5 separate regions of the Homo sapiens genome follow, and all the other regions are linked to region 1. Evidence: promoter capture Hi-C in 16 types of primary human blood cells and fetal thymus (Javierre and others, 2016). All regions are on one chromosome and are shown on one strand. Each heading gives the region's core, a stretch centred on a gene start or on the middle of the fragment in contact. The rest is flanking DNA. Distances are from core to core; before and after follow the strand shown. Region 1 holds the start of ATP1B3 (ATPase Na+/K+ transporting subunit beta 3). Region 2 has its middle 87 kb from the start of RNF7. Region 3 has its middle 58 kb from the start of RNF7. Region 4 has its middle 24 kb from the start of RNF7. Region 5 overlaps TFDP2 (transcription factor Dp-2).

Region 1 (5,849 bases), core at 2,317-4,816:
ATGTAACTTGCAACATTTTCACTTTATCCAAAATGTAAATAGCAAAACTACCTTTTAAATATGTGTGCTTTTTAATGTATCCAATGCACTTGGAGAGGAACCTTAGATCAAAATGAGACAAACATACTAAAGACTTAAATGTGTAAAAATAAAACCAGGAAACATCTTAAATGAATGATAAAATCCTGGGGGTAGACACACCAGGAGTCCTAGCAACTTTACAAGGTCAAAAAAGATGTGATTTTTTTTCCTTCCACCCCCTACAACAAATACATAATCTTTTTCTCCCACCACCTACATAAAATTTGATTAAAAAAAGTCAAAAAGACAACTAGAAAAAAAATTTGCAAAATGACAAAAGGCTGTTTTTCTTAAAAAAAAAAAAAAAAAAAAAAAAGCTGTTACCAAAAACTGTAAGGTTTTTTTTTTTGAGATGGAGACTTGCTTTGTCGCCCAGGCTGGAGTGCAGTGGTGCGATCTCAGCTCACTGCAACCTCCACCTCCTGGGTTCATGCAATTCTCCTGCCTCAGCCTCCCAAGTAGCTGTGATTACAGGCAGGTGCCACCACACCCGGCTAATTTTTTTTTTTTTCATTTTTAGTAGAGACAGGGTTTCACCATGTTGGCCAGGCTGGTCTTGAACTCCTGCCCTCAAGTGATCCACCCACCTCAGCCTCCCAAAGTGCTGGGATTACAGGTGTGAGCCACCGCGCCCGGCCCCAAAAATGTAAGGTTTTAAAAGAGATAACACAGGTAAAAATAGCCTCAGTGCTGATGAAGGTATGAGACACCACTACATACCGTTGGGAGTATAAATTGTTAGAAACTTCCTGGAAAGCACATGAAAACAAGTTTTCAAAATGTAAAAAGTACATATGAATGGCCTAGAAATCCCATCGGTATAAATATATACCAAGGAAATAAATGTGCAAAAATGTACATGAAAAGGGTGAATATAGGGAAACCTGTCTAAAAATCTTTAGTAACATGGAAAGATGCCCACAATATACTCAGAATATAAAACAACACTTTATGATCCTTTTGTTTTAAAAAAAATGTTATACACAATTCAGTAACATATATACCAGAATGTTAATAGTATCTCTGAGGTATGATGACATCTGGCAGCAAGCCCATACAGTCCCTTCAAGAGAATTAAAAAAAGAATCCTTCCTGGCAGACATATCCCCAGAGGCACAGAGCTCTCCAAACTGATCCTGCCTTTGCAAGAATTAGAACAAGGTGCCCCTTCTCTAGGCAGACCCAACCATGGTCTAGGATACACAGCCTGGCAAGCTGAATATGGATTTCGGCCTCCTCTCACGACTCCCTCACATATCCTTAGAGGGATACCCTTACATTGGGACAGGATTATGGTTAATTTTCACCTATATATGCCATTCTTCACTGACTTACTATTATTACAATAAACAAAAAATTTACTGATAAGAGTAATACTTATCGATTTTGAAGAGATTGACTTAATCCTTCCAAAATGAATCCCAACTTCACTTGTACTAGTTTTACAGTCCTTACACATTGCTCTCTATTTATTTGTGCATGTTATCTATTTAAATGCATTGACTCAATAAAATAAAATCTCTACCCTAGGTCATACAATACAAAGGTTGAAGAGCACTATCTGCAGTAAGAAATGTCATTCTAACACAAAGTGGAGTTACTCCGTTCTGGAAATGAGGAAGCACTGGGGAAGGGAGAAAGGGAGGAAGGTAGCCTATCAAAATTAATCTCTCTCCACCACTCAAAAATTTCTTCAGCAAAAAGTTAGTACACTCTAGAAACAAGCAATTAAGCTTTATAAATGTTCATCTTTTGTTCCCATGTAAGTCTGGATGCAAGATTTATTTCTTCATCACACTAGTGGGTTCCCAAAAGAAAACAGCAATTTAAATAAAAATCATGAGTGATTACCATGCAGTTAGGCAAGGCATCTGTAAAATAATACAACCGCTGGACTAGGATTAAAGGAGAACTGGGTTCTTTTCTTGGCTTTGTGGCATATGTAATTTTACACAAGGCAAAAATCACAACCTCTCTGGGTCTCATTTTTCTCATCTCTAAAGTGGGGGTTGGGCTAAAAATCCTCCAAGGCCCCTTTCAGCTTGTGATAAGACTTCAAGTCGCCTTTTCACCCTGAAGGAGTCCATTTCAGTCTGCACCAACAGTTTATTTTCTGAGTCACAGCTTATTTCTCCATGCTTATCCTAAAAATGTTGTGCCCAAATAGTTCTAAGCTCTCGAGATTTATTCCCACTCAGAAAGAAATGGTCTTTCAAGACCCACTAACAAAATGTTTCAAAAGGATTTAAAAAGGTAAAATTAGTTTACTTAAGTATAAAGGCAAAAAAAAAAAAAAGCTCTAGCCTGCATTCAGAGATTGATACAATTTTAGGAAAAAAAGGCATCCTAAAGCTACTCTACACGGTAGATGGTTTAAATATATTAAAACAAAGAGCTCACGCATAGAAAAAATCTGCTAACATACAACCATCACTCTCCTGTTTTGAAGACACGGGAAAAAAAAAAAAAACCTGTGTTGTTCAGACAGGATTTACTTTCCCCAAAGAAGCAAATTTGTAAGGAAGAAAACCTCTGTAATTAAAAAGGAATCCGGGAGGAACCAACCTTTTTAAGGGCCTTTTCACTGTCCAAATTCAAGTGCATTTTCTTGTACAATGTACTTCTGTGATTAACTCACCGCTACACGTTTAAGCAACCCACACCCACACTTAACACTCAGTCGCACTCTTCCGACCGGTCGGGGTGGCAGCGTGGACGAGTCACAAGATAGCGGCGGGAGTGGAAATTTCCTCTCCCCTGGAGTGGGGCAGGGTCTGGCTTCTCCGAACCGCTCAGCGGGCCGGGCGCCTCCGCCAGGGCCTCTCGGGCCGGAGCGCTCCGTACAAAGGAGGCCCGGGGGCTCGGCTCCTGCACTCTCGGGGCCCGGCTTCGGGCAGGGGTCCCCGGCTTCCGGCGCCGCGCCGGGCGGGAGGCCCGGGCAGCACGTGCGCCCCGCTCCCAGCAGGGAGGGAGGAACCAGCGCGGCCCGGCCGGGCTGCCCGCGGGCCCCGCTGCTTCGGGAGCGAGCTGCGGCCAGTCCGGCCGGCCCGGGGAGCAATGAATGGGGCCGCACTGCGCCGCCGCCGCCCGGGTTAGGGTCGGGCGGTCGGGAGCCCCGGCGCTGGGAGCCGCCTCCCGCCTTTCCGTTCCCACCAGACCGCGCCCGGCGCCCCCGGGACCGAGGCCGGCCCCGGACGCCCAGCTGCTGCCCGCTCACCCCAGCTCTTGGCGGTGCGCCCCAGGAATTCTCCGGTGGTCGGGTTGTAGATGAAGAGCTTCCACTCGGCCAGGCTCTGGTTGAGGGACTTCTTCTCGTTCTTCGTCATGGTGTGCGCGCGGACGGCGAGAGGAGCTGCGGCCGCGGGGATGGAGGCGGCGAGGGCTGCGGAGGCGCGTCCCGGCTCCGGCGGCGCAGCCCGGAGACGGCAGTGAAGGGTGGGACGGCCGAGAACACCTCCTCGTTACGGGGAGTACTCGAGCCGACTGCGCCGCGCCGCGCCGGGCGGCCGCTTGGGCCGCGGGAGCCTGACGTCTCCGCCCGCCGCAGCCAATCCCCGCGCCGCTCGGCCCGCGCCGCTGCCGCCTCCCGCCAGCGGCCGGGGCGCTGCCTGAGGCGGCGAGGGCGCCCCACCCCGCCCCGGCCCCGCCCCGCAGTAGCCTCGGGGGCTCCCTCAGCCTGGGTCAGAGGAAGCGAGAAGAAAGTCTAAAAATCCGAAGGTTTAGTCGCACGCACGTTTATAATAATAGCAAAAGGCGGGCGTCCCCGCGCCGCAGGTTGCTTAGGAGGAGGACTGGGTTTCCTGGGCGTTCCTGGGCGCCGGGGCGCTGAGAAGATGCTACCCGCGGCGGGCGGGTGCGGAGAGCACGAAAACGACTCCAGTCGGCCCGCGGCTTCCTCTCTGAGGGAACTTAATCGTCCCCTCCCCGAACTGCCTCCCCGACCGTCCCCAGGCGTTCTCTGGGCTCTGTGACGTTCCTACAGGACGCTCTCTGGGCTCTGTGACGTTCCTACAGGACGCTCTCTGGGCTCTGTGACGTTCCTACAGGACGCTCTCTGGGCTCTGTGACGTTCCTACAGGACGCTCTGCGGGGGATCGCGCGGGGCTCCCACAATGTACACGGTGCACTGCTGTTCTGAGAACGTCCTCGCTTGGCTCCCTTGAAGGGTTCAACCGGGAGCCTCGGGTCAATGGGAATTCCGTTCTAAATATGCCAGTGAATGGAGTATAATTTTTCTCGGGATTCAGTTGAATTTATCAATGAAATCTAAATACGTGCTTTCCCAAGGGTCCTGGCAACTGAAAGCTCCCAGCTTTTGCCCAGACGCTCCTACTCTTAACCCACAGGAAAGGAACACTCGTTGGAGGGTCCACGCCTGTGTAGTGTCGCCGGCTTTTCATCTCCCCTGTAGAGATCGCGGCCCTTGGGCGGAGCTGAGGGTGCCGGTAGCGTTTTCCTCCGCGAGATGGAGCTGACGAGTACGGGAGGGGGGGTGCCCTCAGACTCAGCGACAGGATAAAAGACTTTATAGGAATTTGCACAGAAGGTGCGGGGTGGGGGAGGTTGTTGTTGTTGTTGTTTATTTATTTATTTTTAGAAAAAAGCTCTGCCTCCGTTTTATTAGCAAATAAAAATTATGGAGAAATGTAATAGCCATCTTATTGTTTGGAGTGATGAATTATAATCTGTCTGGAAGTTTAAACAGCCTGCAAATGGATGAATTTTCCTTTTTCCTCACTTTTCTTACCAAAGCAAGAAATAATGAATTATACCTCCCACAAATGGAAAAGTGGTAAAATATATTCCTATAAAGTGCTTTTTTCACGCTTAAAAAAGCTAAATTTATAATTATGACATTGAAAATAACCAAAATCCATTTACGTTTTGAGCTAATGACACCAAAAGATTTGTAGAAGCATGTTGGAGAGTTTGGCATGAAATGAGTATTAGAAATAGCAAAGCACCATGCAAGCAGACTGGAATGCACTTCTTTAAATCATAGGCAAGATTGAAAGAACTAAAGAATGTTACCTGCCGGGCGCGGTGGCTCACGCCTATAATCCCAGCACTTTGGGAGGCCGAGGCAGGCGGATCAGGAGGTCAGGATCGAGACCATCCTGGCTAACGCGGTGAAACCCCGTCTCTACTAAAAATACAAAAAAATTAGCCGGGCGTGGTAGCGGGCGCCTGTAGTCCCGGCTGCTCGGGAGGCTGAGGCAGGAGAATGGGGTGAACCCAGGAAGCGGAGCTTGCAGTGAGCCGAGATCCCGCCACTGTACTCCAGCCTGGGCGACAGAGCAAGACTCCGTCTCAAAAAAAAAAAAAAAAAAAAAAAAAAAAAAAAAAAAGAATGGAAGTAGTTAACTATTTTCAACTCATTACAAATATAACTACAGGTTAGAGGAAACCTAAAATACTGGTAGAGTTGATAACAGGCTTTTTCATTTAGGTAAGAAAGAAAGATATTTAGAATGAAACAAAACCTGTCCGCTTCATTTACATTGTGTGTGTGCATGTATGTGTGTGTGCGCTAATAATAAGCGTGCTTTGATAACTAATCACCTGGCACACAAAGAAAACGTGGTAAACAAGAATATTATGAAATAGTGTTTCAAAGATATTGGCTGCTGTCAAGGATTTGTAGTTTGTGTATGTGTGTGTGTATATATATATATATATATATATATATTTTTTTTTTTTTTTTTTTTTTTTTTTTTTTTTGAGATGGAGTCTTGCTCTTGTCGCCCAGGTTGGAGTACAGTGGCTCG
Region 2 (5,849 bases), core at 1,126-3,625, 230 kb after region 1:
CTTCCCCCAGCAGAGTTCCAGGGAAGGAAGCTCTCTCTCTTTTCTGCTCTTTCTGTAGTCGTCATTCAGTCCTGACAGGGTTCCTACGCCAAAAAAAGCAAAATCTCCAGTGAGGAAATGGTGAGACCCTTACATCAGGCGGCTAAGGAAGAGTTTTCTTCTAGGGTGTACTTAGAAGGAAGAGGAGGTTTTCCTGGGGCTGGGCATATCTGAAATTCACAGGCACTAGGTGTTGTGGGCTCAGTGAGGACTGGCCTTGCAAACCATTTGCAGGTGTTTCTGAGAAGTGATATGATCAGAAAAAAAAAACTCAAATAAACTTCTTAACTAAAGGACAGGAATGTTTTCCAGTAAAAAACTCAATGGAGAAAGACATTTGAAAACAAATCTCAAATAGTTTTTCAGCAAGGTGAATGGGGTAATGATACAAAACTAAGCCTTAAATGTGGGCTATATCAGAGCTTCTTAACCCCAGTGCTACATTAGAACCATCTGGGAGTTTGAAAGTAATGTCCATGCCTGAGACCCTGCCCCAGACCAGTTACATCATTATCCTTGGGGTGGGGCAACAGTGTTTGTTCTCAGGTGGCTCTAACATGCAGCCTTGGAAAGGCACAGGGGTGTGGAAGAGTGCTGAGACCAGGAATCAGGAATCAGTCCTCTCCACTGTCAAGCAAGGTACTCCGCCACTCTCATTGTTCTCATTTGCAATATCAGTGTTTCTGACATTTTAATGTGCACACAAGTTACATGGGGATCTTGTCAACGTGAGAGTCTGGTATAGTAGGTGAAGAGTGGGGCCTGAGACCTGCATTTCTAAGAAGCTCGTGGATCCTGCTAATGCTGCTGGTCTGTGGGCTATAATTGGAATAGCAAGGTCCTAGGTCCGTGGTTCTCAAAATGTAGTCCCAAGACCAGCAGCCTCAGCATCACCTGGTGTCAGGTTCCGGCCCAAGCTGAGGTCCAAGGGGAGTCGGTTGATGAGGGGAGGGCAGCTGAAAGAACATGCGAGAGACCACAGGCAGGTGGGACATGGCTTTGTTCAGCAGCTCTTTCACACTGTCAGTGCTGCATTTATGCACCTCACAGACAACAGTGGCTCAGAGTCATGTGATGAGCCCTCCCATGTTATGGCTACATAGCTGTGGTGGTTTAATACACAGGATTGTGTGCCTGTGCTCCAATCCTGCTGTGTCATGCTATGCCGGATGTGTACCTCGGCCTATACTTGACTGCAGTGCGGCCATTGTCCTTCCACCTGGGAAACTGTTAGAAATGCAAAATTTTGGACTGTTACTCTGATACTCTGAGTATGACAAGATCTAGCCATCTGTTATAACAAAGCTTCTAGGTGATTCTGAAGCATGCTTAAGTCTGACGACCTCTGCCCTGTAAATTCCAAAATCTCTTCTGGTTCTGAGATTCTCTGGTACCTGGTCTTTCTGATTGCTACAGAAACCACTGCTCTTCCTCAGTACCCCAATTGAAAATCCATCAACACCAGACATGATCCTGGGGGCCACTAGTGCATGCCTTCCCAGCACTGTCCCGGATTTTGTTCCCTGAGGAGCCATTCCTTCTGGGAATTTGGACCTATCACCATTTCCCTAGTATGATGGTTAATTTTATGTGCCAATCTGGCCAGACCATGGTGCCCAGATATTTGGTCAAACATGATTCCAGATGTTTCTGTGTGGATGTTTTTTTGGGTGAGATTGACATTTAAATCAGTGGATTCTGAGTAAAGCAGATTGCCCTCTGTCATGTGGGAGGACTTCCTCCCAACAGTTAAAGCCCTTACTAGAACAAAGACTGACCTCCCAGCTGAAAGAAGGAATTCTGCCTGCAGACTGCCTTTGGATTCAAATTCCCACTCTTCTCTGAGTCTCCAGCCTGCCCCATCAGATTTTGAACTTGGCCAAGCCTCCACAATCATGTGAGCCAATTCCTTATGATAAACCTATCTATACACACATTCTGTTGGCTCAGTCTCTAGAGCACCGTAACTGTTTTGGAGGTCCTTTCTGCTCCTCTCCAAATCCAGCATGCCTGCTTTAAAAATGTTATCTCCCCATCTTTTCTGTTCTCATGGCCAAGTTCTCTGTGTCAAGTATTTGCAAGGAAATAATATCCAGAAACCTAATAAATCTGTCACCTTAAAAGATCACAGAGCAGAAGTAGCATACCAGAAGAGCCAGGCGGAATAAAATTTGTTGCCTTTTCTTCAGGTAAGATCTTATTGTACTTTGCTATCTGCTGCAAAATATCAAGCACCTCTTTTAGTAGTTGTTGGTAAATAGGGCAAAAATATGAGGTCAAAGTCTTATTGCTGAAGTTGACAACTTCTTCTTATTCAAATTAATTAACTCAAATTAACTTAAATCTTATTCAAATAAATTTGAGTATTCAATTTTATATTTGGTAATAGGACGGAACTTTTTTCTTCCCTTCATCCTCCCCAGTTCCCAGCAATTTTGCTTTCCTGCTGCATACTGAAGTTGAGTTAACAGATATGGCCTTGGTAATGCAACTCAGCACCCCCTCCCTTTTTCAGTATAATAACATAGTTTAAGCTCAACACACACAGTAAACTAAGAGGGGGCCATTTTTTACAACATGAAGGCCTACTTGCCTTGTAGATGCCTCATCTCCAGGACTACAGTCCTCCTCCCACACCATCAAGAGGAAAATGGAATGATTGTCCACATAGATGAGAAGCTGCAAAGAGGACCCTGGGGAAGAAGGTGAGAAAGGGCCAAGGAACTGGAGGGCTCTTAGGTGTGGAGCCCCAAGGGCTTCCCTATGAAGACCACGTCCCTGGAGAATCTGGGTCGGATGAGTTCAAGACAGAGGGGAGCCACTCCCAAACCACTGTGGACTCTGGGCTGGAAGACTGGATGTCTCCATGAGGTAAAGGAGTGTTTGGACTTTGGGTGCCTTGACTTTGTGCTTGTGATAAAGGTCTAGGCTATACTTTTTTTGTTTTTTTTTTTTTTTTTTTTGAGATGGAGTCTTGTTCTGTAGCCCAGGCTGGAGTGCAGTGGCGTGATCTCGACTCACTGCAAACCCCGCCTCCTGGGTCCTTGTTCAAGCAGTTCTCCTGCCTCAGCCTCCTGAGTAGCTGGGATTACAGGAATGCGCCACCATGCCCAGCTTATTTTTGTATTTTCAGTAGAGATGGGGTTTCACCATGTTGGCCACGCTGGTCTTGAACTCCTGACCTAGTGATCCACCTGCCTCGGCCTCCCAAAGTGCTAGGATTACAGGTGTGAGCCATTGCACCCAGCCTGGTCTAGGCTATACTTTCTTAAAGAAACACCAACATTGCATTAAGAAAACCAAAGTGTTTTATCTCTTCCCCCATCTTGTGAGGTGAATGTGGGCTATGGACCATGAAGAAAGCTTGCAGGCATGCAATTCATTGAATTTGGAAGTCCAGTTGCATGGTTCCATAATTGTCCTCGCTCCAGTGGTCTTCCTAGGTTCCCTTTCCTGGGTACAGAAGAGGAGCAAAGACTTTTTTATTCTTGTGGAATCCAAGAATAGAATTTCATTGTAGATTTGCAATCACCACCTTTGTACACTGAAGTTCTCATGTTGCGAGTGTCCTTGTGGCAGCCGTGCAAAGCGCTGCAGATTCAGAAATCTGAGTGCACAAGAACATTTGCTAAGCCTGAGAAGAAAGGTATGTTCCCTGTGGGCTTTGTGTGGGATGGCAGAGACAAATAGCTCCTGCTTTTGCTGACTCAAAATTCAGCTTAGAATCCAGACAAAAATTACTGAATTAAAAAGTTAGTTTTAGACATTTTATTTAACTCCCACAGCTTTCTTTCTCACAAGCCTAAGACACCACAATGGAGAAGATGACATTCTCATTATTGAACTCTCTTTGTGTCATTCAGTCCTCACTATTCTACATAATTCTTTATGGTATTGTTAATGCATGAAATTGTTTTATTTTTAAAACATAGTCATTTCCACAAATAGTTAAGTGTTATATGCTGAAAATGGGTATATTCTCAAATACAATATATAATTTCTTGAGGTAGAGTAGCAGCTCGTTAAGTAAATTTAAGTTTGAACAGATTCATTAATTAGTCTTGTGGTTGCAAGCATCAGAAAGTATTTCCTATTATATGAGTTCACATATTTGCAACTAGTGAACTTTCTGTTACTTTTCAGATTCTGTAGTTGTTAATGCTTTGTATTCCCCCAGATAGTTTAATTTTTCCTTGGGGAACTTAATGAGCTGCCTTCCCAGCCAAAATATCTATGAAGGTGAGTAATGCTTCCATTCAATTTTATATCCAGTTGGAGAAGAAGTCTAGCTAACAGGCATATGGGCATACGGATTTGCTTTTTTTTTTTTTGTTTTTTTTTTGTTTGTTTATTTATTTGAGATGGAGTCTCGCTCTGTCACCAGGCTGGAGTGCAGTGGCGAGATCTCAGCTCACTGCAACCTCCATCTTCCGGGTTCACGCCATTCTCCTGCCTCAGCCTCGCAAGTACTGGGACTACAGGCACGCACCACCACGCCCAGCTAATTTTTTTGTATTTTTAGTAGAGACAGGGTTTCACCATGTTGGCCAGGATAGTCTCGAACTCTTGACCTCATGATCAGCCCACCTCGGCCTCCTAAAGTGCTGAGATTACAGGTGTGAGCCACCGCGCCCAGCCCTGGTTTGTTTTGAAGTCTGAGAGTATGGATGATTTAGATCAAACCAATGGTTTGACCCAATGTTTTAAATTTGATTTGATTATCCAAGGTGCCACAGGTCTGTAGCTCTATTGCTCTTATAGCAGGGGCTTCATCCCAGCCCCTGTTGGGACCATTGCTAAATTTCAGATCTGTTGGGCACATCTGAAGAATTGACAGCATGGGCTATCTGAAGTTGACTGGATGTGGAAGACCAGGGAGGTTTCCTAAAGGAAAAAGGAGCTAGCCTTATCCGTGGAAGGGGGAGGTGTACATGTACTAATAAGCATGCCTCTGTGGTTGGTTTGATGTGGGAGAGCAGACAGTGGGGAGCAAGGGAGTGTGGTACCCTAGCCAAGCTCCCAGCCTCCCTGCAGGCCCTGGGTAGTTCAAGACCTCACATGGCCTGGTGGCAGTCTTCGGGAGGAAAGGGTGGCTCAGCGGCGCTAACAGCGATGACCAATTAGAGCTGTGTCTGGGCCCAGCAGATGACAGGGGAGGAGAAGGAAAGCAGAGCAACACTTCAGCTGCCTGGGCTAGCTGGGGGATCTGTGTGAAACACCCGAAAACATCTCCCAGGAACTTCCAGGGATCTGAGGTCCAAAAATAGCAAGTAAAGACAAGAACTAGTGAGAGGTAGGCCATATATTATTTTTAAAGTATTTTTGCTATTATTAACATATGCCTTATTTTCATATAAAAATTAAGTGATGCCATAGGAAAGGGAACCCCCGCTACTCACAGTCAGATCTCTGTTTACTGAGGCAAATTATCAACCTGTCAGGTCAAAGTTCAATTTGGACAGACTGGTGTTGAAACAAATTACATTCTGTAGCAGTTCGTGTTCTGCAGTTGCAAGCAACAGAAAATATTTCCAATTAACTAGGGCAAAAAAAAAAAAAAGAGGATGTATTGGCAGAATCCTTGTGATAAGTAATTTTAGTGTCAACGTGGCTAGGCCATGGTACCCAGTTTTTGATCAAACACTGGTCCAGATGTTGCTGGGAAGGCATTTTTTAGATGTAATTAGCATTTAAATAAATTGATTTTGAGTAAAGCAGATCACTCTCCATGGTGTGGGTGATCGCTAATCTAGTCAGTTGAAGACCTTAGGAGAAAAGACGGAGAAGTCCCTCGAGGAAGAAGGAATTCT
Region 3 (5,849 bases), core at 2,356-4,855, 200 kb after region 1:
GTGAGGAGAGAACTGCAACCCCCAGAGGCCAGTATCCTGCAGTGTTACCAGTGTTAAGGTCTCGGGTGGTGATTCCCAGCTAGGCGAGCCTGACAACACTAGGTGTCCTGGCGTCGGTGGCAGTATGTCATCTGACTATTACAACAAGTTGTCTGCTGAAGAAGAGAATTCCTTCTTTCTTCCTTCTCTCTTCCCACCAGTGCAGGTCTCTGGGTGCCCCTCCCAGGAGCTGGAGCCTGGAGGGGTCTCTTAGCAGTGGGGCTGGTGCTGCCCAATAGTGTGGGAAACTGGGGGACTCGCAAGCAGATCCTACAGTCACTGCATGGCGTCCCGTGTGCATTGGGCTCCTGCTGCCCCCTGTTACAAGACCCTGCCTGACGTTCCTCCCAGCATTTCAGAAACCCTGAGAACCTCCACAGAGAACGCCCTCTCCCCAGCTTTTACCACCAGGGCCCTGGCCGGATCCCAGTTCTGTGTCTCTGGGCTACCACTTCTCAGGCTCGAATCTCCTCTCTCTCCTCACAGCCCACTGGCCTTTTGAGTCTAAGGCCCCACCCAATTGCATGGGAAGAGTCACAGAATCACAGACTCCTGGAGTGGGGGAGATCATTTCATTACAGACCAGAAAGGTTCTGTGACTTACTCCAGATGGTACACACAGTTTGAAGTTGTTTGTGGACGGCAACTTATAGACCCCGGGCAATCTAGTGTCATGGATCGGAGGTGGGCTCTGATTCAGACAACCTGAATCCATATCAAGGTTCCATCCCTGGGGGACTGAATAGCCTTGAACAAGTCTGTGGACCTCATCCACAGTCTAGGGATAGTAATGGTGCATAGCTCATGAGGTTGTTGGGAGGAGAAATGAGCTCATTCCTGCATCGTGTTTGGCACACAATAAACACTCATTAACCATTAGCTGGAAATATTATTATTATTCTCATCTTGTGGACATTCCCTTAACATGCTTGATACCCCAGCTCTGAAGGACTTGCTCCACTCCTCCCCAACACCACACCTTTCCCTCCCTCTTTCCCTCCCTCCCTCCCTTCCTTCCTTCTTCCTTCCTTCCTTCCCTCCTTCCTTCCTCCCCTCCTTCCTTCCTCTTTCTTTCTCTCTTCTGTTTTCTTTTTGAGACAGAGTCTTGCTCTGTCACTCAGGCTGGAATGCAGTGATATGATCTCGGCTCACCGCAGCTTTCATCCCCCACCTCAGCTCAAGTGATCCTCCCATCTCAGCCTCTCAGAATGCTGGGATTACAGGTGAGGGCCACTGTGCCCAGCCCACCACACCTTTCTTTCTACCTCCTCATCTGGTGAATATTGACCCGTCACCTAGGGAATTGTGGTTTCCCTTGTCCAAACTACCAAAATAATATACATGGACATCTTTTGTGGTCTTCAGATTTTCTACCTTGCATTAAGAGCATCTCTTCTCTACTGTACCAAGGACACCTTGGAACAGCAGCATTGCCTTCTATATTTGTATCTTTCTTAGCACTGAGCACAATATCTTGCATAAACTAGCCTTCAACAAATATCTGTTGAAAGAATAAATAAATGAAAGTGACTCTTCTTGAGAACTCTAATATTTACTCAGAAACATTAACTCTAAGGTTTTAGAGGGTCCTCTTCAGCCATGCCTTGATAAGGTGCAAGGAAACTGGACATGCAACCCCCCCAACCCTCCCCATCTTTGCTTCCCCCAGCTGACAGCTGTAAGAGCCCTGCAGGAATTCCAGCCCTACTTGCAGTAATCGAGGACAAGAGAATGCAAACTACTGAACCGCAGAGCCTTCCCAAGTCGCTCTAGAGACCACAGATCCATCTTGCAATCAATGATTTCTAGGGTGGTAAACGGGCAGGTGGTGTGCCCCTTCAATTCCAGAAGCAAAGCCTAAGAATGCAAGATATAAAAAATGCTTACATAATGATGACAACTATGCTCTGTGCTTTAAAATGTTGCTTTCAAGTCCATCATGTTAATTACCTCAACATTTTTGCCCCAAGATAACTTTCTAATTATCTAAGGAAAAGGTGGCATGAAAATAAAATACTTTCCCTTTAAAACAAAGAGTCACTGAATTGGATTGGAGTGTTGGATTGGAGCCAACACATGAGCACTGGAGCCAGCCCAGGTTCCCACAGTTTCCTGTGTGGAGGGCCCAAGGCCAGGTCATTTCCTGTGGTAACAATGGATGCTAATGACAGATAAATCCCCACCTAATGAAAGGAGAGGGTATTTAAAAATGTAAATCACAAGAATGTCGTGAACAGGCCACCTTTTAGCAATTAGAGCCATCACAACCTGAGGATCCTTCATTTCAGAATTTAAGCCTAGAAGAAGCTTTGGTGGAGTTTGGAGAATTCAGAGTTTTTTGAGGCAATGACATGGTCAGATATAGGATTCCAAATTATACCTTGGCAGAGATTAAAAAGGCACTTGTGACCTTAACTACAGAGCTGGTGCCCAAGGCCTCTTTAATGACAGGTGCCTCATTTGAGTGCTGGACTGGATTCTGCAAGCTGTGTTTCTGACAGAGGAGCCAATCAATGTGGCATGTCAGTGCCTATGTTAACATCAGTCTGTGCTAAATGGGCTCTTGACTGGGTCCTAAAGCTCCTAATCAGAGGTTTACATGTCACTCCTTCGGCACCAGTACTGCCATGGGCAAGGACCATGCTATCCAAGATAGAATTCCTCAGCAGCCTCCAGATTAGCAAGAGGGCTACATTTAAGGAACTATTAAGGATCACTTTTAACATGCATGGACAGCATCTTATTTCCAGCTTGAGTGGACTGGGTACCCTGACTGACACTCTGAATAAAAGCAACTAAAATTGCAGGATACATATTTAAAGTAACTTATACATGTATTTCTTTTTTTTTTTTTTTTTTGAGACAGAGTCTCGCTCTGTTGTCAAGCTGGGGTGCAGTGGCACCATCTCAGCTCACTGCAACCTCCAACTCCCTGGTTCAAGTGATTCTCCTGCCTCAGCCTCCTGAGTAGCTGGCATTACAGTTGCGCACCACTACACCCAGCTAATTTTTGTATTTTTAGTAGAGACAGGGTTTCACCATGTTGGCCAGGATGGCCTTGATCTCCTGACCTCGTGATCCACCCGCCTCGGCCTCCCAAAGTGCTGGGATTACAGGCGTGAGCCACTGAGCCTGGCCAAAAAATGTATTTCTTAACTGTGGCAAAATGCACATAACATTTACCACCTTAGCCATTTTTAGTATACAGTTCAGTGGCATGAAGCATTCACATTGTTGTGCAATCCTAACCACCATCCGTCTCCAGAACTCTTTTCATCTTACAAAACTGAAACTCTACTTATTAAACAATAACTCCCTATTCTCCTCTTTCCGCAGACCCTGGTAACCACCATTCTGTTTTCTCTCTGTATAAATCTGACTACTCTAGGTCCATCACGTAAGTGGAATTCTACAGTATTTGTCATTTTGTGACTGGCTTATTCACTTAGCACAATGTCCTCAAGGTTCATCTCATGCTGCAACATGTGTCAGAATTTCCTTCCTTTTTAAGGCTGAATAATATTCCATTGTCTGTATACAACACATTTTGTTTATTCATTCATCTGTTGATGGACACTTGGGTTGCTCCCACCTTTTGGCTCTCATGAATAATGCTGCTGTCAACATGGGTATAGAAGTCTCTCTTTGAGATCCTGTTTTTAATTATTTGGGGTATATATTCACAAGTGGTATTGCTGGATTATATGGTCATTCTATTTTTAACTTTTTGAGGAACCGTCATACTGTTTTCCCTACTGGCTGCACCATTTTACATTGCCACCAACAGTGCCCAAGGTTCCAACTTTTCCACATCCTTGTCAACACTTGTTATTTTCTGGGTGTTTTTTATCTTTTTTATTTTTTTATTTTTGATGGTGAGGTTGGCATGTCATTGTGGTTTTGATTTGCATTTCCTTAGTGATTAGTGATGTTGAACGTCTTTTCGTGCATGTATTGGCTATTTGTATATCTTCTTTGATGAATGTCTATTTAAATTCCTTGCCTATTTTAAATCAGGTTGTGGCCAGGCATGATGGCTCACACCTGTAATCCCAGCACTTTGGGAGGCCAAAGCAGGTGGATCACTTGAGGTCACCATGTCTCTACTAAAAATACAAAAAAAAAAAAAAAAATTAGCCAGGCATGGTGGTGTGCACCTGTAGTCTCAGCTACTCGAGAGATTGAGGCATGAGAATCGCTTGAACCTGAGAGGCGGAGGTTGCAGTCAGCTGAGATGGATCACACCATTGCACTCTAGCCTGGGTGACACAGCGAGACACCATATCAAAAAAAAAAAAAAAAATCAGGTTGCTTGCTGTTTTGTTGTTGAGCTGTAGCAGTTTTTTTTTCTTTTTTCTTTTTTCTTTTTTTTTTTTTCCCATGACAGGACAGGCTGGAGTACAGTGGTGTGATCTCGGCTCACTGCAACCTCCACCTCCCGGACTCAGGCAATCCTCCCGCCTCAATCTCCTGAGCAGCTGGGACTACAGGTACATGCCAGCATGCCTGGCTAATTTTTTGTAGAGATAGGGTTTCACCATGTTGCCAGGCTGGTCTCGAACTCTCATGAGCCACCACACCCGGCAAAGTTGTAATAGTTTTATATATATATATTCTAGATGTTAACCCCTTATCAGATATACAACTTGCAATTATTTTTTCTCATTCCATAAGTTTGCCTCTTCACTTCATTGATTACGTCCTTTGGTGCATGGAAGTTTTACATTTTGATGTAGCCAAATTTATCTACTTTTTCTTTTTTTTTGCCTGTGCCTTTGGTGTCATTTCCAAGAAATAATTGCCAAATCCAAGGTGATGAAGCTTTTCCTCTATGTTTTCTTCTAAGGATTTAAAAATATATATATATCTTTTTAAAATGTGTCGATGGGCTGGCAGTTTAGTGAGGAATACCCAAAGATCAATGAATGAGAGAAAGTGGGAGCCCAGTGGGGTATGCAGAGCACTGACTCCAGCTTTCCTTTGAGAGTATCACTCAAACAGTAGTTGGTTTTCATGGATCGTGGAGTCCAGGGAATAGGAGATAAAGTCATAGACACTGGAGACAAGGAGTCCAGTAGAAAATGCTACATGAAGTTATGGCCCCAAATACAAAGTGGGCCATAGGTTTTTTCTCTTAGAGTAAGGATAACTAGAAATAAATACCTAACTCTCTTTTTTTCCCAAAGGACCCTAGGGAAAATTGCCTATCTCAGACTGATAAATATGAGGAAAAAATGTATCTCCTGAGAACTCACAAACTAGCTCTAATACAGTTTTGCACCCTGTGTTAATTAACCATCTGGATGGTTCAAAGAAATCACAGGTCAATAATTTAATTTAATATAACCCTGGGATGGTAGCACCCAGAGTGAATGGCAGACACAAATTCAAGCCCTGAAGAGGAAGTTCTCTTCAAACCAGAGCTCAGGAAATTGCCACAACCATTATCCCAGGAAATATGAGTTAACAGTAAAAAGGAAATCACAAAACACACAAATTGGTGTCACCATGAGTAAGAGCCAGTAGAAGCAAGAGATCACAATATCAGCCCCAAATAATTCAGATTATTGAAACTATTAGACAGAATACAAAATAACTTTAACACATTCAAAGAAATAAAATAAAGGATTTTTTTTAAAAGTAAGAGACTAGAAAATGACTACTAGTGTCCTTTCCTATTCTCTGCTTCCTCCTTCCTCCCTAAACATAATTTTGTGATAATCAAACATTATAGTTGTACCTGTTTTTTGAACTTTACATAAATGCAAACATACAGTATTCATTTGTTTGTGCCTCTCTTCATTTGCAGG
Region 4 (5,849 bases), core at 1,516-4,015, 160 kb after region 1:
TGGTAAATATGTGAATAAACATAAAAAACTCCCCCCTTATTAAAAAAACAACTGCTTAAACTAGACATAATAATAATGTATCCTTGGATTTATAACACTGGTAAAGGTAAAATATATGACTACAAAAACACAAAGGATAGGAAGAGAATGGAAGTATACTGTTGTAAGATTCTTATACTATAAGTGAAGTAGTATAAAGTTATTTGAAGGTAGACTGTAATAAGTTAAAGGTGAAGGCTGTAAACACTAGAGCATCCACTAGGAAAAAAAAGACTAAGAGGTATAGCTCACGAGCCAATAAAAGATATAAAAATGGACTTATAAACATTACTTAATCCAAAAAGCAACAGAAAACTAGTTTAAAAGGAACAAGGAACAGATGAGACAAATAGAAAACAAATGGCAAGATGATAGATTAAAAACCAAACAAACCATAAAGATAATCACATTAAATATAATGGTCTAAACAATTAAAAGACAAAGATTGTCAAATGGATAAAAAAAGAAGTTCTCAGCTGTATGCTGTCTATAAGAAACCCAATTTCAATATAAAAACACAGATAGGTTAAAACCAAAGGACGAAAACAGACAAATTATGTAAATATTCATTTAAAAAAACCTGTAGTGGCTATATTAATATCAATCAAAGTAGGGAGCATTACCAAGGATAAAGAAGAGCATTTCATAATGACGAGTGTCAATTCATCAAGAGGCACAACAATCAAAAATGTTTATGTACCTAAAAACAGAGCTTCAAAATACATGAGGCAAAAATTGATTAAACTACAAGGAGATATAAACAAAATCACAATTTTCCCCTCTCTCAATAATTGATAGAACATGTAAAAATTTGTACATATATAGAAGACTTCAATAACACTGCCAACCAACTTGACCTAATTGACATTTATGGGACATTCAATCCAGTAACAGCAGAATACACATTCTTTTCTCATGCACATGGAACATTTACCAAGATAGATCAGATCTGGGCCATAAAAGAAATAAAACAAGTGTGTTCCTTTTTTCCGCTAGAGATGAGATCTTGCTATGTTGCCCAGGCTGATCTCAAACTCTTGAGCTCAAGCAATCCTCCCACCTCAGCCTCTCAAGTAGCTGGGACTACATGACCACACCAGGCGTGGGACCTGTAGTCCCAGTTACTTGGGAGGCGGAGGTGAGAGAATCGCTTGAACCCGGGAGATGGAGGTTGCAGTGAGCCGAGATCATGCCATTGCACCAGGTATGTTTTCCAACCACAGCAGAACTTAATTAAGAATCAAGAGATTCTTAATCTCTTGATTAAAACAGAATGATATCTGAAAAAATATACACATATGTGGAAACCAAACAGAGCTGTTCTAAATAACCCATAGGTTAGAGAAGAAATGAAAAGGAACATTAGAAAATATTTTGAACTGAATGAAATGAAAATATAACATATCGAAATTTGTAGGATACAATAAAAGCAGTGCTTAGTGCTAACATAAACATTTATATTAGAAAAATTAAAACTTAAAATCAATAACTTAAGCTTTCACTTTAATAATCGAGAAAGAGAAGAGCATATTAAACCCAAGGTAAGCAGAATAAAGGAAATAATAAAGACAAGAGATGAAATCAATAAAGTTAAAAACAGAAAAACAGTAGTGAAAATCAAGAGTGGTTCCTTGAGAAGATCAATAAAATTAATAAATTTCTAACCAGATCAATCAGAAAAGAGAAAACACAAGTAATCAATATCAAGAATGAAAAAGGAGACATCACTATAGATGCTACAGACATTAAAAGGATCGTAAGAAAATATTATGAAGAACTTTATGCCAATAAATCTGACAAATTAGATGAAATAAATTTCTTGAAAGACACAAACTACTAAAGCTTTACTCAAGATAAAATATCCAGAATAGCCTTATATCTATTAAGGAAATTGAATTTAGACCAGGCATGGTGGCTCACGCCTGAGGCAGGAGAATTACTTGAACCCGGGAGGTGGAGGTTGCAGTGAGCCGAGATTGCACTGCTGCATTCCAGCCTGGTGACAGAGAGAGACTCCATCTCAAAAAAAAAAAAAAAAAAATTGAATTTGTTGTTAAAAACCTTCCCATAAAGAAAGCTCCAGGTCCAGATGTTTTCACTGATAATTCTACTGAATATTTAAGGGTGAGATAATGCCAATGCTACACAAATTATTTCATAAAATAGAAGAGAGGGGCACACTTGTTAGCTCATTCTGTAAAGCCAGAATTACCCTGATCTTAATGCCAGACAAAGATATTACGAGAAAAGAAAAGTACAGCTGTGTGTGGTAGCTCACGCCTAGCTGGGCAGATGACTTGAGATCATGAGTTCAAGACCAGACTGGCGAACATGGTGAAACCCCACCTCTACTAAAAATACAAAAAATTAGCCAAGCATGGTGATCCGCACCTGTAGTCTCAGTTACTTGGGAGGCAGAGGTGGGAGAATCCCTTGAACCCGGAGACAGAGGTTGCAGTGAGCCGGGATCATGCCGTTGCACTCCAGCCCAGGCAACAGAGCGAGACTCCATCTCAAAAAAAAAAAAAAAAAAGAAAAGTACAGACTAATATGCTTCATGAGCATAGATGCAAAAATCCTTAACAAAATTTTAGCAATATACTAAAAGCATAATATATCAGCAATATATTAAATCAGCATTGTGTTAAAAGGGCAATGAAATGAAGGTTATTAATAGGATTATTATAGAAAAGCAGAGAAGCTATTAAAGTTGAAAATCTTCCCAGCCTTCCTGAATAAGTATATTAGAGAAGATTCCCTTCCCTTCCCCTCCCCTCCCCTCCCCTCCCCTCCTCTCCCCTCCCCTCCTCTCCCCTCTCCTTCCCTTCCCTTCCCTTTCTTTCTTTCATGATGAAGTCTCATTCTGTTGCCCAGGCTGGAGTGCACACGATCTTGGCTCACTGCAACCTCTGCCTCCTGGGTTCAAGTGATTCTCCTGTCTCAGCCTCCTGAGTAGCTGGGATTACAGGTGTCTGCCACCATGCCCAGCTAATTGTTTTGTATTTTAGTAGAGATGCGGTTTCACCATGTTGGGCAGGCTGGTCTCAAACTCCTGACCTCAAGTAATTTGTCCACCTCGGCCTCCCAAAGTGCTGGGATTACAGGTGTGAGCCACCATGCCCAGACAGAGAAGGAATATTTTTCTTCTAAAATAATAAGTAGACTGGGTGCAGTGGCTCACACCTGTAATCTCAGCACTTTGGGAGGCCGAGGTGGGCAGATCACTTGAGGTCAGGAGTTTGAGACCAGCCTGGCCAACATGGTGAAACTCTGTCTCTACTAAAAATACAAAAATTAGCTGGGTGTGGTGGTGCACGCCTGTAGTCCCAGCTACTCAGGAGGCTGACGCAGGAGAATTGCTTGAACTAGGGAGGTGGAGGTTGCAGTGAGCAGAGATTGCACTACTGCACTCCAGCCTGGGCGACAGAGTAAGACCGTGTCTCAAAAATAAAAATAAAAGTAGTAATAATAATACTAAGTAGCCATCCATCAAGCTCTCAAGCCTCAAGCCTTGGCTGTGTTCTGTTGCCCTTGACTGTCCCCATGGTGCTGTCACTATCGACTACCTGAAACTATATATCTTGGAGTCGTTTCCACCCAGCAAGCTTTTTCTACAGTAGCTGCAAATCCTACTTGGCCCACTGGGGATGTGGACTCAGTAGGCCTGGACAGGGAAATGCCTAAGATTCTCAAGACAAACAAGGTAAGGAAATATCCTGTTTTTGAGAAGCTTTTGAGAATAGCTGTGTCCTTCTGCCTGAGGAGGCTGGGACAACTTTGTAATCAAACACAAAAGAGTGTTCACTCCTGAGTAGGCCGCCCTTCTTCCTCAGGTCACATTGATTACATTTTACATTATATCCTGACTTTAAGAAAGAAAAATTGGGAGGTCATACTTCCTGTTTTTCCTCAGTTGCCAACTTCTTAAAATGGGGCTTCTAGTGAGGTCTTTGAGACTGCTTTATGGTCCACACACAACTGTTTGCCACGTTAGGTACCAAGACCAAGATGGGTCACTGCTTGGCTCTCAGAGCTGAAAAACCTCATCGGAAACTGCTAAAAAGGTGCAGTTAAATAATTATCCCCATGATTTAATTCAAGCACTTAGTTTTAAAAGGTGAACAAATAAAGCCTCTTAACTTGCTACTTACCATGTTAAAGTTTGAATGAATTCCAATAAACCATTTTCTCCTTCTCTTCCTTTTCCATCTATGCCATTATCTGCCTAATGCAACTTCACTAACCAAGGACCACTTTCCATCAGACCTTCAATTTTCTTCTTGATTCCTACAAGAAAATCAAAGTATTTTATTATTTTTAGACAATAGTTCCCCTGTTTGTCACCAGCTAAGCTGACTTTATTCTTTTAGCTTGTACTTTACTGGACTTGTGTGAGTAGATGCATTTGCAGTATAGTCAAGGAAATACTGTATATATAATTTTTAAAGTCCTCGTTTTATACTCAGTACATCCTTCCTTCTTTAGAACAAGAAGCCCAAAATTACTCTGCATGAAAGGAAATTCCATCTAAGATTTAGATTGTTGCCTTTACTTTGAAGAGGAAAATGATGTATCTAGAAATTTCCTGGAAGAAGATGAATGAGTTGCCCACTGATCTAGGGGAAGTGATAGTTCTTGTGAAGGAATTCAGCCCTTTAAAGGAGCCTGAAAAGCTGTTACCTTTTTGAGCTTTAAAAGAGAAAATCTGAAGGAGAAAGAACCATCCTGCCTTTGTAGAATTCATGACTGGGCTCAGGGTTCCTGGGGTTGGTTCACACTTGTCAGTCGACACAGCTTTTGTAGAGTCTATTGTCAGTGCTGGGAAACAGCATCAGGTCCACATTTAATTTATGTCAGTTCAAGTTTAGGAGTTTGGCAAAGAAAAATACAGGAAGGGAATGGAGGAAAAGAAATAATCACAGGCATAATGAGGGCTCATCCACTCAGTAAGTATGAGATGGGAAATAGGAATTGGCAGTCCCACGTTCAAACTTTTTCTGGGGGCCTACAAGTGTTTAGAGTTATATGTGCCCCCTAAACACTAACCAACTACTTCATCTGGATCCAACTGAAGAAAGACCAAGTGATCTGTTCCAAAACTGGGGAAGAAACTGTGTGGGACTTAGAGATAATATGCCTAGATATTGTAATGTGTGGGCAAATTACGGAATTTTAAAGGATCATTTAACTATACACTAATTTTGTCCACAATGTCCACCATCGAGAGCCTAACCCTGGAGCTAGACAAGACTTGAATTCCTTCAGCATTTAACAAATATTTTCGAGCTCCTATTATGTGTCAGGCAGTGGTGTAGGTGCCAGGGACCCAACGGAGAACAAAAGAGACAAAAATCCCTCCCCTTATGAAGCCGACATTAAGTGAATGTTAACTAGCGTGGTTAGAGCAAGGAAGAGAACAGAGTCAAGGATAATCAAGCATAAGTTTTCAAGCCTGGAGGGAAAACTTGCTTTTCAGGAAAAGGAGATAAATTTGGACATCAGGCCTTCCTAGGTTGCCGGTTGGGGAAAAAGAGTAGAAAGTATGCTATTAAAAAAAGGATTTGATTGGTTTCTTTGGACATGAATCTAATCTGCTGGGTTGTTGGATTAAACAGACAGGATTGGCTGGGCGTGGTGGCTCACGCCTGTAATCCCAGCACTTTGGGAGGCCAAGAAGGGCAGATCACTTGAGGTCAGGAGTTTGAGACCAGCCTGGCCAACATGGTGAAACCCATCTCTACTAAAAATGCAAAAATTAGCCGGGTGTTGGGGCATGTGCCTGTAGTTCCAGCTACTTGGGAGGCTGAGGC
Region 5 (5,849 bases), core at 1,339-3,838, 150 kb before region 1:
GGTGTGACCATATCTAGCCCCTGAATATTCTGGCCTTGGGTGACACAGGTGAGCACTTCTAGCTGATCTGACAGGTTAAAGGTGTACACTTATTTTCTCTGTAAGAAGCGTCATCTGGTAAGATGATCAAGAATGGTGCAAAGCAGGATGGGGAGTTTAAAATTGTTTCCAAATGTGGGAATGTAAATGAATATAAACATGTAAGATTTTAATATACCAAACTGATCAGATTCTGTGTAATTTCCAAGTTTCTTTTTTCTTTCAAAACTCCTCTGAAATCTGACTGTCCACAAAAACTTACTTTATAGAATTTTATGTGATTTATTTACTCAGATATTATACTGACCTCACATCCAGTAGTGAAAACAGATTTTATTGTAGAATCTGGAAAGATAGAGGGCCATATAGGTTGTATTTTCAGTTTTGTTTATACTAACACGTGTTTACAACCCAGTTTAATTTACACCCTGTATTGTATTATTGTTGTCATATCTCTGTATGCATGTAAGTATAATATGTGTTGGCAAAGGAAAATTTTGAGTAAGAAGAAGCTCTCTGATCTATTTGATTCAATATGTATTTGAGTGTCTAACAGACACTGTTTTAGACACTGGTGATACAACACTGAACGGAGCACCAAATACTTTACAGCGTCTCCTGGAGCTGTTGTCAAGACATACTTTCCAAGGGGAATATTTCAGAATAGGTGATAACTAGTCAACGAAGGAAAAGTACCTTAGTCATCTAGGAGAGTTGTACTTAGAGTGAACTGAAATAAACTAAGCTCACGAAAGACAGAGATTTTTTGTTTGGCTTTTGTCTGTTGCATTCACTACTGTATCTCCAGGGCCCAAAATAGTGCTCGGCTCATAATAAGTATTCAGCAAATATATGTTGTTGATTGGAGTGTTTGTTTTGAATTTCTGTAATCAAACACATACCTTGGTAAATTATCTTTACATCTTGCTAGTTGAAAATTTTATCTCAGTTGCTTTGTTTTTAATGTTACCTTGCTTTTTGTTTCTACTTGTGCCATACATCAGGATGCTGGAAAAGCTTATTAATATTGACAGTCATATGGTTATCTGATATTGAAAAGAATAGATTTGGAAAGGAACCTAAGAGGTCATCTTTTGTTCAGCTTCCTGCCTAGGAAAACTAAGTAAGATGATTAGGTATGTATATTTAATTAGTCATTTAAAAAAAAACCAGGACAACATAATTGAGTTCCCTCTTGAGAAAATGGAGAAAGGTACTTAACCCTAGCTATAAAGGGACTAACCTGGAAATTTTAGAACTTCTGTGTGGGAAAGTGGAAAAAAAAAAAAAGCACAACTAAGCTGCTCTTTGTTGATATCAGAAATGGGCCTGTCATTCATTTTGGCATTGAAGCATAGCCTCCTATCTCGGGGCAGGACTGGGACATTTTTTTCCTCCCACAAGAGCTGGACAGTTATTACAGGTTCAAAAAGCCCCGACCAGTTTTTCAAGAGTTTCTCCTCCTCTTTTCCCCCTGAAACTCGTGGTGCTTTTGCTCTGCTTTCAAGATGCATTAAGTCTCCTGCTTTGTGACTGCTTTGGAGCCAGCAGATACTCTGATATGTATAATTCAAATTATGCAGGTTTCACGAGTAAGTTTAATCTTATTTTTTAAGTTAGTTAAAAGGCAAGTGATATTTAGAAAAATGTTAACTTGTAGTTATTTCACCCTTTTTACTTTAAGCATTTTTATTGCTTCTCGGCCTTTTGGCTAAGATCAAGTGTGTACTTTAAGCATTTTTTAAAATAAAAATATCCTTTTAATTTAATAAGAAAACAAGGTTCTACATAGAAAAGCCCCTTCATCTAAGACCTGCACTTTTCAATTTCTTTTGAGATGTCTTTGTTGTAAACAGTATTCATATGTCTTTTGAAAGCCAGTTAACTAAACAGTTTTCTTGAGCATCTTTTTAGTTTTACTGAGAAGTATTTTAAATTGAGCTTTTCTGAGCTCGATTGCTTACGTCTGACACAGTCTCAAGTTTCCACTGAATGGTAACAAAGACTGTAGAATGTTGTTGGTACTGCAGTGAGAGGCATGCTTCCTTAGACCAGGTAAGAGAGATCAGTTTGTTTCTCACTGCTGGGTGAGTTTTTACAGCTCTTATTTTATATTCTTTAAGCAGCAGCAATATTAAATTGATAAATAGCCAGGAGCACGCTGATTTCAAGACGTCCTTGCTTGTTGCAGACAGAAAAACTACAGGGTTATGTATGGGGGTTGGGGTGGGGGGGGAGGGGAAGAATTAGTTTATTACTCAGTTACTTATATAAATTAATTAAAATGTGAAAATAATTCTGGAGCTCAGTTTTCTTAATTCAGGAACTAAAGCAGCAGTTGAGGAAATCAGTAATTTTAAAGGTACTTCATGGTTATTACTTGTGAAAGCAATTCAAAGGATAGTTTTTACTTTCATTTTTTTCCCCAGTAGTTAATAAAATAAGCTTTGCCCTTAACTAAACATTTTTTCCACTTACGAAAACTTTTAAATTGCCAACAGCAAAATATACTTCCCAAGGATCCTTGGAAATCAACCTGACACTTGAAAAATATTTCAGCTTTTATAGCTGTTTCATTCCTTTTTTTCCCTAGTACATTTTTCTTAAAAGTATTTGTGCTTTGAAAATGTCAGCTGTATTCTAATGAAGCTTAGGCATTGTTTGCTCATAAAGGGGCCGGTGCATTCCACTGCTTTATGGTTTATTATGAGGCACAGTGTGAGAGTGTGGGTGGCACCATTTGGTGTCTGCCTCTTGGGGTAGTGACTGCCATTATGTTAGCCTTGGACTGGCAAAGAAAATATAGCATACAAGATGCTATATGAATCTGGATACTGTGAAGAAAATCTTACCCCTAAACAATTCTTAATGACCCCGGAATATATGACAACTTGATTGAATTGATCATTTCAATTATACCCTTGAAGTTTGCATTTTAGTTACAACGTATATTCTATTAGACACGTCTTATTTTTTGATATATAATAGCATTTAGTCATTCTTTGAAGTTCAATAAGGAAGTGAATGTTTCTAAACTATGATGTTTTTAATAGATACAGTGAAATTTTAAATAATACATTTACTTAAAAAAGTTTTAAGGAACTTAGTGTGGGTGGGGAGCGGGAGTGGGAGAGGGAGAGGGAGAGGGAGAGGAGGTCAGGCAGAGAGTCTTTCTTCTTTCAGTTAGGAAAGCCCTGGTGAAGAAAAAAAGCAACAGATGTTTCTTCTGTTACAATTGAGGTTGTTTCATTCAAAACTCAGAGTAGCTGGAATGGAGAGAGGAGGTCATAAATCTGATTTAATCAGTGAATAAATAAAATTTAGTCATTTAAAATTTATTATTTTATATTCAGGAATTGAAAGTCATAGAGTAACAAAATGAGTAACATACCCAATATTTAAAAAAAAACTTTAAATATTGCCTGTAGCCTGTATAATTAATGAAAATGTGAGAAAATTAATTCTGTTGAACTTCACTTAAGGAAAAAATTGATAATTAAATCATATAGACCATTTTTTTAAAGCCTAAGCCATCTAAAATATAGAGGAAACAGTTGCAAAAGTTTATCACTAGACAGTAGGTACAAAATCTCAAAATGAAAATAAAATGAGAAACATCAGTTACATATGTTGATAGATGATTTCATCTTCTGTGAGAAGCTGAGGCTTATTCCTAAGACCTTTGCATAAGAAATATGGGAGTAATATTTTGGGTTTAATTGAAATGATATGTTGCAGTTTGCCTCTAAAAAGAAAGATAATAAGCTTGGATTGGTTGCTAATGGAAAGAGGAGAATGTTTATCTGCTGAAAAGAGTAGGAATGAAGAGTGTGGAAGCATTATGCGTGTAATGAAAGCAGTCAAAATTTTGAAAAACAGTTTTTGAATTTTTGGAATTCATAATGAGGAAAGTGAAAACCTTTCCTTTTACAAGTAACACAAAGAAGTCCTATGCTGTTGTATAATGTGCGTGTATACACATTACAACTTTATTCATTTCTTAAGTTTGCTCTTGAAAAATCAGTGCTGAGCACCAGCTCTTTCACATATGAGGCACTTATTCAATATTTGCCATACCCTACACTGGAAAATTCGTAGTAATTTACAGTAGCCAATAAAGTTTTTGAGCTATAGTTTAAAATTTGCATATGGATTAATTATTATACAGTTTTCTAAATAATTGGCCTAAGGAGAGAGAAGGCTGGAAAAGATATCAACATTCAAGCAGATTATTAAAAATTCCTCTTGCTGTTAGCTAAGATCTGTGGGCTTACCTGAAGTTATTTTTTTGTTGTTTTTTTTTGTTGTTTTTTTGTTTTTTTGAGACGGAATCTCGCTGCAAGCTCTGCGTCCCAGGTTCACACCATTCACCTGCCTCAGCCTCCCCAGTAGCTGGGACTACAGGCGTCCACCACCACGCTCAGCTAATTTTTTGTATTTTTAGTAGAGATGGGGTTTCATCATGTTAGCCAGGATGGTCTCAATCTCCTGACCTCGTGATCTGCCCACCTCGGCCTGATGGTCTCGATCTCCCGACCTTGAGATCCGCCTACCTCGGCCTCCCAGAGTGCTGGGATTATGGGCGTGAGCCACTGCGCCGGCCAGAAGATTTTCTTTTCTTCAAATAATGATGACCAAATTTAGAGATTTTGAAGTTTGTTTGTTTTTTGAGATGGAGTTTCGCTCTTGTTGCCCAGGCTGGAGTGCAATGGTGTGATCTCGGCTCACTGCAACCTCTGCCTCCTGGGTTCAAGCGATTCTCCTTCCTCAGCCCCCCAAGTAGCTGGGATTACAGGCATGCGCCCACACGCCTGGCCTTTGAAGTTTATTGAATCATTATTTCAATTAAGATTCAGATTCTAAAACTTATCTATGTACATTTTGCTTATCTTAAGGAATAGCAACATGTAATGGTTGAGGTTTTTTCTCTCTAAAATAAGTAAAACAATTTACATGGACTTTAAAATGGATTTACAAACTATAGATTTGCCTAAAGAACTTTTTTTACAATTCTGATCAAAGAACAGAAATTTTGATGGAATAGACAGGCTTAAAAAAAAGTTGGTCACTCCACATGTAATACATAACTGTGACAGCATCATAGATTGTGATTATAAAAAATGTGTATCACTTACAATTATAAATGTAGACATGACAATAAGTTACTTAACAAGGAAAACAGTATCAGCAACAGCAACAAGGACATAGTTTGGACTCCTAGCCCTTCAAATTGAGAAATGAAGACCAAAATCAGTTGAATTATTTTAAGATGAATTCCCACTGCCTCTGTATGTGTAAATTATCTTGGAATTATTGAATGTGTGGTCAAATTATGGTTGAGAAGAGCACATTAGTTTTAGCATATATGGAGTATAGAACATAGAGAGTATAATTTTCTATATTATATTGTTGATTTATACTCTATGAGAAACCAAACCATTCAAGTTTGTTACCTGGAAATTGGTTGGGAGTGTCTGAAGGAAAAAACAAACAAAAACTTTCCTAATTCATCTGCCATTTAGAGGTAATTCCTTAATTGTCTTTAATTTCTAGTAAATACTTCCAGTCATAATCAATTTAAATATTAAATTAAATCTTTTTTTTTTTTTCTTTGAGACAGAGTCTCGCTGTTGTCGCCTGGGCTGGAGTGCAGTGGCACAATCTCAGCTCACTGTAACCTGTGCTTCCCGGGTTCAAGCAATTCTCCTGCCTCAGCCTCCCGAGTAGCTGAGATTACAGGCGCCCGCCACCAAACCCGGCTAATTTTTGTATTTTTAGTAGAAACGGGATTTCACCATGTTGGCCAGGCT

Evidence for each region. Contacts are between HindIII fragments. The CHiCAGO score rates a contact against its expected background, and 5 or more counts as called.
Region 2: a fragment that was not itself captured here is called in contact with the fragment with the promoter of ATP1B3 in region 1 in 1 of 17 cell types (monocytes); the score reaches 6.7 in monocytes.
Region 3: a fragment that was not itself captured here is called in contact with the fragment with the promoter of ATP1B3 in region 1 in 4 of 17 cell types (M0 macrophages, M2 macrophages, monocytes and 1 more); the score reaches 8.3 in M0 macrophages.
Region 4: a contact is called between a fragment that was not itself captured here and the fragment with the promoter of ATP1B3 in region 1, in 1 of 17 cell types (endothelial precursors). The highest score is 5.2, in endothelial precursors.
Region 5: a fragment that was not itself captured here is called in contact with the fragment with the promoter of ATP1B3 in region 1 in 1 of 17 cell types (fetal thymus); the score reaches 6.8 in fetal thymus.

What each region holds. Positions count from the first base shown.
Region 1 is chr3:141,874,360-141,880,208 of GRCh38, reverse strand. It overlaps ATP1B3 (ATPase Na+/K+ transporting subunit beta 3), which reads right to left and starts at 3,566. Exons shown (of 7, transcript NM_001679.4): 1 at 3,299-3,566. The coding sequence starts at 3,407. RefSeq lists silencers at 2,772-3,341, 3,612-3,741, 4,612-4,671. The HindIII fragment of the contact is 6,749 bases long and covers 1,817-5,849 here.
Region 2 is chr3:141,647,890-141,653,738 of GRCh38, reverse strand. No RefSeq gene overlaps it. Among named protein-coding and RNA genes, the nearest start is that of RNF7, 87 kb to the left of the region's middle. The HindIII fragment of the contact is 2,058 bases long and covers 1,347-3,404 here.
Region 3 is chr3:141,677,532-141,683,380 of GRCh38, reverse strand. It overlaps the pseudogene LRRC78P. Among named protein-coding and RNA genes, the nearest start is that of RNF7, 58 kb to the left of the region's middle. The HindIII fragment of the contact is 2,514 bases long and covers 2,349-4,862 here.
Region 4 is chr3:141,711,769-141,717,617 of GRCh38, reverse strand. It overlaps the pseudogene LRRC78P. Among named protein-coding and RNA genes, the nearest start is that of RNF7, 24 kb to the left of the region's middle. The HindIII fragment of the contact is 1,763 bases long and covers 1,884-3,646 here.
Region 5 is chr3:142,024,824-142,030,672 of GRCh38, reverse strand. All of the region lies in intron 3 of TFDP2 (transcription factor Dp-2), which reads left to right. Among named protein-coding and RNA genes, the nearest start is that of TFDP2, 120 kb to the left of the region's middle. RefSeq lists enhancers at 1,340-1,389, 1,796-2,297 and a silencer at 2,684-2,733. The HindIII fragment of the contact is 204 bases long and covers 2,487-2,690 here.